2 separate regions of the Homo sapiens genome follow, and region 1 is linked to region 2. Evidence: promoter capture Hi-C in human tissues and cell types (Jung and others, 2019). All regions are on one chromosome and are shown on one strand. Each heading gives the region's core, a stretch centred on a gene start or on the middle of the fragment in contact. The rest is flanking DNA. Distances are from core to core; before and after follow the strand shown.

Region 1 (5,636 bases), core at 223-2,722, 38 kb after region 2:
AAATTATCTTTCAATGGAAATTTACTAAATCCTTGCTAAAAGAGTTGGCTCTATTTGAAATATTTTATGAAGGAGGTCTTTTCATGTGATTGTTGAAGTGAACATGAGGACTACTGGCCAGATCCAAACCAAATAAAAGTTTCCCATATTTGTAGGTCTGAAAATGTTCTTGAACCTCAGTTTAAAACCATTGATTTTGCTGGAGCTAGAAGAGATTCCTAAAGCTTTACATCACTTTTTATCATTACATCTGGCTTTAGTTGTTTTTCTTTTGCCTACTCTTATGTGCTCTGATAAACACATATATGAATTAAAGAGTGTTCAAACTTTGTAAGTATCAGTCATGGCAGCAGGAACTCTGGCAACAACACTTCCATGAGAATGTTTCTTCACCATCCATAGATCTGATCTTTTCATGGGGAATGTGAAGTCTAGCTTTGCAAGTGTGAAAAAAAGCACTAAAAATTGATGGTTTCATTGTCATTTATTTTTGAAAAGCAGAATAAGTGGCCATGATATGATAATTTTCTGTAATTATATTTGATACTCTTGTTGTCCTATATTTGTGGTTGCTATTCAAATATAAAACTTGAACAATTATGGAGAATTATTTCTATAATTGAACTTAGTCCTGTTCTTGTGTCTGTTTGCTATCAGTTTGCTTACTATATGCTATCTGTATACATCACTGGCAGTTCAAAAACCATTAGCAAAGAAAAGATAAACTGTCTGTGTGTAGGGAAGGGAAGAATCATCTCAGAGATCAACCTTGTGAGGTCAAAATATCCCACTTTGTTGCCAAACATAGTATAAATTTGGTTGTTAGGCTCAGAAATTCAGAGCCATGCTGCAATTGAAAAATGCTATGAATAGCTTAAAAGTTCAAAATATATTGAAAAAATACTGAGTATTGAAATGCTAGTTATTATTTTTGTTTTTATTTTCTCAGAAAAGCTTTCAAGTTTGTTTTTTGAGATCCCCCTCTCCCAAAACACACACATACACATACACACACACACACACACACACACACACACAGAATATATTCTAAATGCAAACACATGATACGTATTAGTTGATTTGTTTCAACTTACTTTACTACCATCCCTATGGATGCATCTGTTCTAGAGAGAGAATGCCTGCATATAAACAAGAGAAATTTAACTAAACTTTACAGGATTCCAGTTTTAAGGAGTAATTTGTAAGCAGTTTTTGAGATGTGATTCTTATTTCAGTATGAAGCCATTCTTCTTTTAGTTTCAGTTTTGTTGTCTAAATCTGAGTGCTTTTACTGTGTTCCCAAATGGTCTGGATCTGTCTTTGACAAGGTACAGCAGGCTTAGGGGGCAGAGGGCATTTGTTTAACAGGTATTAACTGAGTGCCTGCTCTGTGCCAAACACATTTTTGGGTTTGGGGGAAACAACAGTGAACAAAGTAGACAAAAATCTGCATTCATGGAGCTTGCATCCATTTGGGGGAAGACAGATGATAATAAGTTACATATATAAATATATATGGTATGGTAATGGCTGAGGAAGATCCCTCTTGGCAGGGCATTTGGAAAAGCTGTGGGGCTCCGAGGGCCAGTGCTGTCCCCATCCGTGGGTCATCTGGCAATTGCCCAGTCCTCCTCTAATGCTGCTCAGTCTCAGTTGAGTTGCACTACTGACTCTTCTTAAGTCACTTAGAGATGAAGTTGGCACTATTTGGAAAGATCTGTTGCAGCAAAGGGTATGTTTTTCCTTAAGTTATTTGTTTTCCACATATAGTCACAAATTTACTACTATTTATTCAGTACTTGCTACATGCATTGTATGGCTTAATCCCCATCCTGCAAGGTGGGCAGTAGTCACTATCCCATTTTACAGATGAGTAGATTGTTATTTAGGAAGAGTAACTCATATTATGGGTATATAATACTCCTCATAGCTTTTCTGAAAAAATAAAAGTTAAGTGCTCATGATGACTATTTTAGAGAGAGTTGCAAGAGTTTAAAATGATCACTGCTTAAAAGTTAGTAGCAGCATTCTTTTCCCGATTCTCTAGTTTTTAGACCTGCAAGTAAAGACATGCTTTCAGTATTGCAGGTTTAATGAGACTCTGCTGTCTTTTCCCCACTGATGCCATGCTTCCTGGAGTTGCCATGTGTCTTCACAGCAGGATTGAAGGGAAACCCTTTTCTTCTGCATAGTAACAAGCTTTTGCTTTCACTTTGTAGGACCATTTTTAATTTTGGAAAAAGTGTAAGTTGCTCAATATTATGGTCCCCCAGAGTGAACTTTTAGAGATGGGTCTCGGAAGATCTTAAGACCAAAACATCAAAAGAGAGAGACCAGGGTCCTAAGAGAATATGAGAGTTGTTAAAATCATGAGCATTTTCCGTAAGCTGCAGAGAGTTTTGAAAGTAATTGCAGTTTATGTTGTTGTCTTAGAACTGAAGAACAGAAACTCTCTTTCTTTGTGCTCCATTTTCCTGACCAGACCTTAGTGCAAGAATAAAAGGAAAATGAACTGGATTGTTTTCCCTGTGGCACTCATTTTCCTCCCTTCTCTTCACACCTAGCTTCCAAGTCCTGACCTGTTTCCAGATACTTTTTTTTTGGAAAAGGTTGAGGTTTGAGTAGGAGAAGAGTAGTCTAAATGGGTTTGCACCTACTCCCAAAAATATGGATTTAAAAATTATTATCTTAATAACAATGACATCCATATAAATAAACTGATTATGAAAGCAATCTGCAAATTGCCAATCAAATATAATTCTCACAACAATTCTAAGATAAAAAATAATGGCTGATTTTGTGCTTCTTAGTTCAAATAAGAGTCAGCTGAAGTTTTGAGAGATTGATGCATCTGCTCACAGAGGTCCTAAGGGCTGGAGCTTGGGTAAGAATTCAGATCCTATGACATTTAGTCCAGTGTTCTTCAGTTCACTATTACTTTCCAATTTTAAGCTGTCATAAGTTTGAGAGACCATCTAATATATCTCTCTTTGAGATGACAACCTACATGTAAACTCTTAAGTGGTTTGACCTAGAGGAAAGCCATTAGTGGCTAATTGAAAACTCTGTGCTTTTTTACATTACCAAAGAAGTGTGAACTTTGATACAGTACCAAAGAAGGGATGAATTTCTGTAGAAAAACATTGACCTTTTTGCACACTAAGATTATTTAGGCCACCCCACCTGATACTGAATTTTAACTATTGCAGACGTTTTTAGAAGTTATGGAACACTGTCATTTGTTTTTATTTTCAAAAAGCAGTCCATTTTCAACATGGAAAGCTGTTAATTTTACTGGTTCATGCATTCATTTAACAGGTGTTTACTGAGTGCCTGCTCTGTGCCAAGCACATTTTTAGGTTTTGAGAAAACAGTGAACAAAGTAGACAAAAATCTGTTTTCATGGAGCTTACATCCATTTGGGGGAAGATAGACAATAATAAGGTATGTATGTAAAATATATGGTATGGTAATGGCTAAGGAGAAGAATTTGAATTGGAAGGGTAATATAAAGTATGGAAAGGGTAATGAAATTTTAGATGAGATGGTCAGGGAAGTCCTTGTTGAGAAGGTGACTTTTGAGTAAAGACTGGAAGGACATGAGGGAACAAGCTAGTTAGATATCTGGGGAAGAGCTTCCCAGACAGAAGGAACCAGAAATGCAAATGCCTGAGCCCAGAGGTGTCTTGGATGTCCAGAAAATAGCAGGAGCCCAGGAAGGCTGGAAAGTACTGGGAGGACAGTGAGAAATGAGATTCTAGAGATGAAAGGAGGACTGGTAATTGGAGAAGGGCCCCGCAAACCATTGTAAAGACTTTGGGTTTTACTCCTAGCACAATGAGTCATTTGGGGGATTTTTTAGCAGAGAAGAAGTGTAATCTGATTTATAACAGCTCTCTGGCTGCTGTAAAGAAGAGACAGTCATAAGTGGGCAAGAACAGAATTAGAGAGATCACTTAGAATGTAACATCTAGATGCAAGAGAATGGCAACAGTGTCAATAATAAAAGGTGGTAGGATTCTGCATATTTTGAAGTTAGAGCCATCAGGATTTCTGTACTGATTGGGTGTAAAGTATGAGACAAGAAGTGTTAAAGGTTTGTCATCAATTATGATAGGGAGGGTGCAGTGAGCAGGTGTGGGGGAGGACCAGCAGTTCAGTGTTGTATTTGGAATGTATAGTATGTATTCATGTCAAGTTGTTGAGTAGGCAATTGAGTATAGGAGTCTGGAGCCTGAGAGAGGTATTGCCAAGCATACACTTTGAGAGTCATTGTATAGTTGATATTTAAAGCCATGTTACTGGATGAAATCTCCAAGGAATTGAGTATAGATGAAGGAAGAAGAGGACCAAGGACTGAGTGCTTGGTCACTCCTATATTAAGAGCTCAAGACGAGGAACCAGCAAAGAGATTAAGAAGGAGCTATCTGTAGCTAATACAAAAACATTTTGTGTATTACTAGATTTAATTCATGTTTCAAATTTCTTTTCATTATGAAACAAATGACATTCAAGGAATCTGAAAAAGTGTGGCCAATGGTTTAGGGAAAACCCAGGAAAATGTTCATAAATGACAGGGCTTTAACCAAGACAAATCTTAACTGTGTTAAGTAGCAAGACTAAGTGCATGGAGGTTGGGGTGAAAAAGCAATACCACTTCATTTTTTTTACAGTACTTAAGACCTATGAATTCTAATTTCTTTGGATTTGAACTGGTACTGAAAAATTATTTAAGCTACCATATCTTGATACTGAGTAAAGAGTACCTACTCCTTTACTTTACTCTGAGGTCAAGTCCCTTGCTCTCTAACTCACGTTCATATAATTTGGGGAAGGATTGGTTATTTTCTCTCTGATTTGATTCCCAATTATCTACTTTTCTTCTGGTGCTTGAGTTTAAGAGCATTCTGGTTCTGGTGGAGGGTCTAGACTTGTCATCATAGCCCTTATTCATTTATGTAGCAAACATTGTCCAGAATCTATCACATATCAAGTTTTGCATTTGACATTGGGGATACAAGTATCAAATAAAGAGCTCTGGCTGCTGTAAAGAAGAGACAAATGATACAAATAATACAATTGATAACTGCCTGCCCTGAAAGAGTTCCCATTCATGTGTGAATGAGCAATTATAATATAGGCTGATGTGTGCTATAGTGGAAATGACTATTGAGAAGGGATTCGTTAAGCAAACTCAAGGGAGAGAACAAGCAACTTCCTGGTAAGGGTTGAAGAGTACTTCACGCAAGAGATAATACTCAAGCTTAATCTTGAAGGATCAGAGTTTCTCGGGGACTAAGACAGCAAAAGATATTCCAAGCAGGGAAGCAGTACATGGAAGGGGAACTTAGTACAAAAGAGGAAGGACAGAGTTTCAAAGACATTTGGTGGATAAAATCAGAAGGGTTAACAGGAGCTGGATCATGAAGGCCATTTTATGCCCCAAGCGGGGTGCTATTCATAATGCTTTTTGTGTATTTACCCACTGAATTCTGAAACAACCCTCTGAGATGATACAGTATTTATCCAATTTTTGCAGATATGTGTCCTGAGGCATGGAAAGATTGAGTGGTTTTTCAAAGTCTTATACTCTGGGATGTTCCTTAACTTCACCAAGCATCCAAAACCTGGAAGTT
Region 2 (5,715 bases), core at 231-2,730:
TTTGTAATAATTCTTCAGAGTGTCCTGTGCAAATCTGAGGTGGAAAAATCAGAGAATGAAAGGTTGTTGAGAAAGAACAGGACGACATTTTAATTATAAAAGGGAAAATGTTCCAATTGGGGTTAATTTCTGTAGAAAGAAACCTCAGGGATATTTCAGGTAGCAAGTAGGTTTTACAGAATTGAAATATAGATTGAAGAGATTTTGCAAATACCCGTTTTCTCATATTTTTGATGATTAAAAAAAGACTCCGAATTTTGTTAAAGGAATTGGACCTTGTTAACTGAACAAAGAATCCCATCTTATTTATATCCTTCCATATTCCTTTTCTCCTCTGTTGAAAGGACATAGTCCATTCCTTTTTTGAGTGTTATTTTCTCCCCAATTCCCTCTCTCAGTGGCAAATCCTATCACTGGTATTTTTAATTTGCTGGTTTCAGAGCATTTGGATTCAGTAGTGGTATCAGCATGCCTTTGTGTGAACAAACTTACCTGTTAAACTTACTCAATTCCCTGCACTGAAGCGAAGAGTTTTTTAAAATGCATATCATTTTTCAAGGCAAGATCCCTATCTAAACAGTCTAAATAAAGGAAAATTTGAAAAATATCTCTCTTTCAAGAATCGATTATTAATTGGGATCCGGATCAATTGGTATAAGAATGCCCGGGACAGAGAGTCAGTTTCCATTGGTAGAAATATGGTCCAAGATTTCTGTGGCAGATACACAGGACTTTCCCTTTTGGAGTTGGGGGACTATTAAAGGAGCTGTTAGGCTCCCCTGCTGCGTGGTTTACCTCATTTAAGTCTTACAACTCCCCTGGGAGAAAGACATGAGTAGTCTCGCTGCACAGAGAAGAATGTCTCAGAATTTAATTGCTTAGAGTCTCTGCGGATAAGTTTCAGATGTGCCACTGAAACTCAAATCTGCCTACGTTCCTTTCACAGCACTACATTGCCTCAAATGGAGACGTTTTGAGTTGGTCTGATATGCTTTTTCCAGTTCCCAGAATTGATTCTTTGTGAGAAGTAGTTTTTTCTCCCATTTCCACCAGGCCAATTATGGCGAATGTAGTAGGAGCAACATCTAGGATTCTCCGTTTGGGTTTCTAATCCGGGGCCGGCACCTGTCTCGGCGTCCTGCCGCTGTCCCAGGCCGGTGGTGCTGGATTCCGCGGCGCTTGGGCAGAAACGAGGAATCCCCGCCAACTCCACAGGGAGGATCTATTCCCAGCCCCCTTATCCCCCTAAAAAACACCCAAACCAAAACAATCACCACAACCTAGACCGTGGGCCTCTGCGGACGGGGCAGTAGAGGGTCGGGGGCAACAAGGCACCTCGGCAGCGCCCTCTGGCGAGAGGAGAGCGCGCAGGTCCCCCGCCCGCGCCCCGCTCTGCCGCCGCCGCCGCCGCCGCCGCCGCCGCCGCCGGCGCCCCCGCCCGGCTCTCCGGGTTCACCCTCGGTCTCTCACTCCGTGAGACACAGACGGTAGCTTTCCGACCGAGCGGGGCACAGGCTGAGGCGGCGCCAGCACAACTGCCGCCGCGCGCCCCGAGGAGACCCGGGCACGAGGAAACAAGGAGAAATCAGGACTCCTTCCCCGGAACCGACCGGCAGCTCCGCGCCCCCGCGCGACACCCTTCGCAGCCACTTCGCGGGGCGGGCCAGGACTTGGGGACGCGGCTCGGGAAGAGCCGGGGCGGGCGGCGGCGGCGGCGGCACGGGCGCGAGGGTGCGCGCACTGGGACTGGAGAGGAGTGAGTGGCGGGCTGGGCGGCGGCGGCCGTAGCCGCGGGTGCCTCCCCGCCTCACCGCTTCGCAGGCAGCACCGCCTCCCGGGCCGCGGCCGCCCGGCCGGGTCCTCTGCGCGTTCCCGGGCCCGGAACCGGCACACGATGCACCCGGCTGCGTTCTGATCGCCGCCGCGCCTCAGCCTCTGCCGCGATGATCCCCCCTGAGCAGCCGCAGCAGCAGCTGCAGCCGCCGTCGCCAGCCCCGCCGAACCATGTGGTGACCACCATCGAGAACCTGCCGGCCGAGGGCAGCGGCGGCGGCGGGAGCCTGTCCGCCTCCTCCCGGGCTGGCGTGCGCCAGAGGATCCGCAAAGTGCTGAACAGGTGAGCGGCGGCGCCGGGCGAGGGCGCGGGGGGCGGGGGCTGCGGGCGCCCGGCTCCGGGTCCCCTCCGTCCCTGGGGCGGCCCACGGGTCCTTTGGGACGGGGTTGCGGCCGGAGGAGACTGAGGAGATCGGGCGACGACGCGCTCCGCGGGCGCAGAGAGGCCGCGGCAGCTTTGTCCCGGCGCAGGGAGCCCTGGAGTGGTGGAGCTGCAGCTGGTCCGAGGCGGGAGTTCGGGGAGAGGCGGGGTTTTTCGTACCTAGCCACCCTGTATGTGTGTCCGCACTCACACCCTCCATACGCGTGCCGCCTCACTTCCCTTTCCCTCTCGCACCCCGGCTTTGCGATCGGGGGTCGGGGGGACGCGGGGACCCGGCCAGGGCTGAGGAGGGAGGCGCGGGGCTGCAGAGATGGCGTGGAAGTCCTGGGCCTCGTGCTGTCCTCCGCCCCGCCCCGCCCGGGGGCTTCGACCCCTTGCCGGGGGAATGGGGTCGCAGCGACAGCCTAGCAGGCGGAGGGAACCCACTTCTCCAGCCTGACGCTCCAGTCGCCTCTCGGACTCTTCCTGGCTGGGAGCAGCGAAGAGAGGGCTAGAGGCCTGGAACAGACCCAGCAAAGTGCAAAACATTGCGGGCAGGGTGTGAGCCGGCGGCGCCCAGTTATTCCGAAGCGCCCATGCCGGAGGGGGCGGGTGCCGATCGCCGGCGCCTCCAGTGCTGGAATCTGCGTAGTGGATTCAGGACGTTGACGTTTTAGGATGAGGACCTGGGTTGACGTGAAAATGGGGGTACCTCTGGCACCTCTGACTCAACTGTGATGTGAAAGGGACTTTTTCTACTTAAGTAACTTGAAATGGTTGACGAGCTGACACCTTAAAAAATTGTATAGGGAATGGGTTTTGTGTTCTTTTTTGTTTGGATGCGTGGGTGCCTTTCGATGCATCTGTAGGGGTAACTGTTCCAGTCGCTCTGTTCATACAGGTTTCTGTGTGGCATTGTGTTGGGTAGCAGAGATTCCCAACGAATTCACACGGAACTGTCTGGGGCTCAAAGCTCTGGTGGGAGTACAAACTATGTACAGAAATAGAATCTTGAGAAATATCCTTATTTTGGGAGTATAGTTTAATTTAGTTATATCAAATCCCGAACCATTCAAGAATCCCTGGTGGGGAATTAATGCGTGCGTTAGTTTATTTGCGGGTACTTCTGTAGCTTTCCATTTATTATCAAACAGAAAGAAATTCACTCTGACGGGAGACAGGAGTTGGTAATAGAACTAAGTCTTTGATTTGTAGCTGAGAATACCACCTTCCAAAAGATAAAGTAGAATAAAGCAAGAAGACGCTGGCTCAGTACATATTATGTGGGTTTTGTATTTTTTATGAATACCTGTGAGTTTTTTTTTCAATTGCAATTACCTTGTCATTGGCTGTTTAAATTTTTAATCACAATATATTTTAATTATTATTATTTCTCATCAAACTAGAAAATATTGATGTAATATTTTGCTCAGTTTCTTTTTGCTCAATTATAAGTTATTACTGATTCCATGTAGGTTATTTCTTGATATGTAATGAATCATAGAGCCCAGAAAAACAAGATCACTGAGGTAGGAGTGAGGGGTATGTTGTCATCATACCTTGGCCAGTAGCTAGACAAGTGGTTTGCAGCAGAGCCATTTATCTGCTTGGTCTTGGTTTCTTCATTGTAAATTATGTTTAATAATACAGTACTTGTTTTACTTCCCTACCATGATTTTGAGAATTAGATAATGCTGAAGAAAACACTTGGAAAAGTATAAAGATCTACATGAATTAATGTATTCAACTCATTTTTTTTCTAAGGTAAGCCTATGGGGTAAACATAGGCAAATGAAGTTGAAGTCATGCTACGTTATGGGTAGAACCTTGTGTTTCTAATGAAACGATCTGTGACATGAGTTGTACTAGTCCCAGTGTATAGAGGAGGAACTTATACTTATGTTGGGTTGACGGCATTTCATCGCAGGTATACAACCGTGAATGGAACCCTAGGTTTGTAGCCTTTAGACTTAAGCTAAAACAATTATTTATTTATTTGTCTTTCAAAGTTATTCAAAATTTTCAATATAATATTTTGTATTGAGTAACTGGCTTTTCCTTATCCTTAAAGGATAAGAAGAAACTCTTTGTTTCAAGAAAGAACATTTTTAGTAAGGAGACTGAAAAATCTGAGCAAGTTTTAAAATCTCAATGGCATAATTTATTTAGCATGCTGATGGGCTTGGCTTTTGTGCCATAATTATGTCAATGAGAGCCTTAATAGTGGCTATAGAGTGATTAGGCTCTAGGTAAAAGTGAGAGTATGGGGGAGAGTGAATTTTTGAGATTCTGCAGAGTGCTTGGATGTGGCTCCCCTCTGGTTTGAACCCTCATGATGTGTTGGACTAGTCAGTAATGGATATCAGGCAGGCCCATTGGGGCCTAATCATAAGCATCTTTGTCAATTTTCTAAGAACTCACCATCTGCTTACTTTCTCCTTTTTTGCTTTCTTCTTTTCCTCTTCCTCCTTCCTGAATACTTCACCCACATTGCCCTGTCCACTCATTGTCTTCATTTGTCTTCTTTCCTCTACCCTTGGCATGCAGCAACTTAGCTCCTAGCAGAAAGTGGTTCCAAATCGGGAAGCTGGGAGCCAATATAAAAAATATCCCTCCAACTTTTGACATGCAGATATATGGTTAGCAGCATTCTATTGCTGTGGGCTGGTAGGGCTAGTCTCTTCAGTGACTGAAATGGGGGCTGTACCACTGTCAGCTCCTAGCATCCCACTGGGCCAAAGGGGTAATGCTGAGACACAGAGTGGTGCAATGGGACGAGAAATATTAGACTGTGAGCAAGCCAAGCCTGGCGAATTGCCTGCCATTGGTCACAGTCTACAGGAACAGCTATCTGACAACCCAGAGGAAGAACTGCAAACACATACGCTATCTATATCCTGTCTACCCAGGGAGAGTTAAAGAGAGAATTGCTCATCAATAATTAATTAAAGGTACTTCTTGCTCTCAAGAAGCTTAGAATGAAATATAGTGTTATCTTAATAAAATCTGCCTTACATTATTCAGCATCATTTTATTTCCATAGTATACTCCATAGCCTCTCCCCTTACTCTAAAGGCTTGTCGAGTTGGATTGCTGCATTTTGTACACAACAATTGGGGTATTTCATTGGTTGACTACTCCCTTTCTGTGAAACAGTTAGATTAGAATGTAATTATATTCAAGACTTGGTGAAAGAGGAGGCACTAGATAATTTTTTAAAATAATTAATGGGACATCACATTTTTTCCCCTGGTATACTCAAAATTGTTTTGGCAAAAGGATGCAAGAAACATGACAATTTAAATGCTGGAATAATTACTACTCCTTTAATATTCAAAATTGTGAACCAATCAATATATTGATTCAAACAAGGAAAAAATACGGCAAAGTCTTCTTCACATTTCCCTCCCCTCCCCTCCCCTCCCCTCCCTCCCTCCCTCCCTCCCTCCCTTCCTTCCTTCCTTCCTTCCATCCTTCTGGCAGGATCTTGGTCTGTTGCCCAGGCTGGAGTGCAGTGGCAT

What was found. Contacts are between HindIII fragments. The study calls those that stand out against the background at their distance.
Region 1: a fragment that was not itself captured here is called in contact with the fragment with the promoter of SLC35F1 in region 2 in 1 of the 25 tissues and cell types used here (bladder).

The regions. Positions count from the first base shown.
Region 1 is chr6:117,943,586-117,949,221 of GRCh38, forward strand. The region is part of intron 1 of SLC35F1 (solute carrier family 35 member F1); the gene reads left to right. Among named protein-coding and RNA genes, the nearest start is that of SLC35F1, 39 kb to the left of the region's middle. The HindIII fragment of the contact is 4,517 bases long and covers 1-3,731 here.
Region 2 is chr6:117,905,784-117,911,498 of GRCh38, forward strand. It overlaps SLC35F1 (solute carrier family 35 member F1), which reads left to right and starts at 1,481. Exons shown (of 8, transcript NM_001029858.4): 1 at 1,481-2,116. The coding sequence starts at 1,944. LOC124901480 (a long non-coding RNA gene) reads right to left here and starts at 1,147. Exons shown (of 2, transcript XR_007059904.1): 1 at 493-1,147; 2 at 1-34. The HindIII fragment of the contact is 14,555 bases long and covers 1-5,715 here.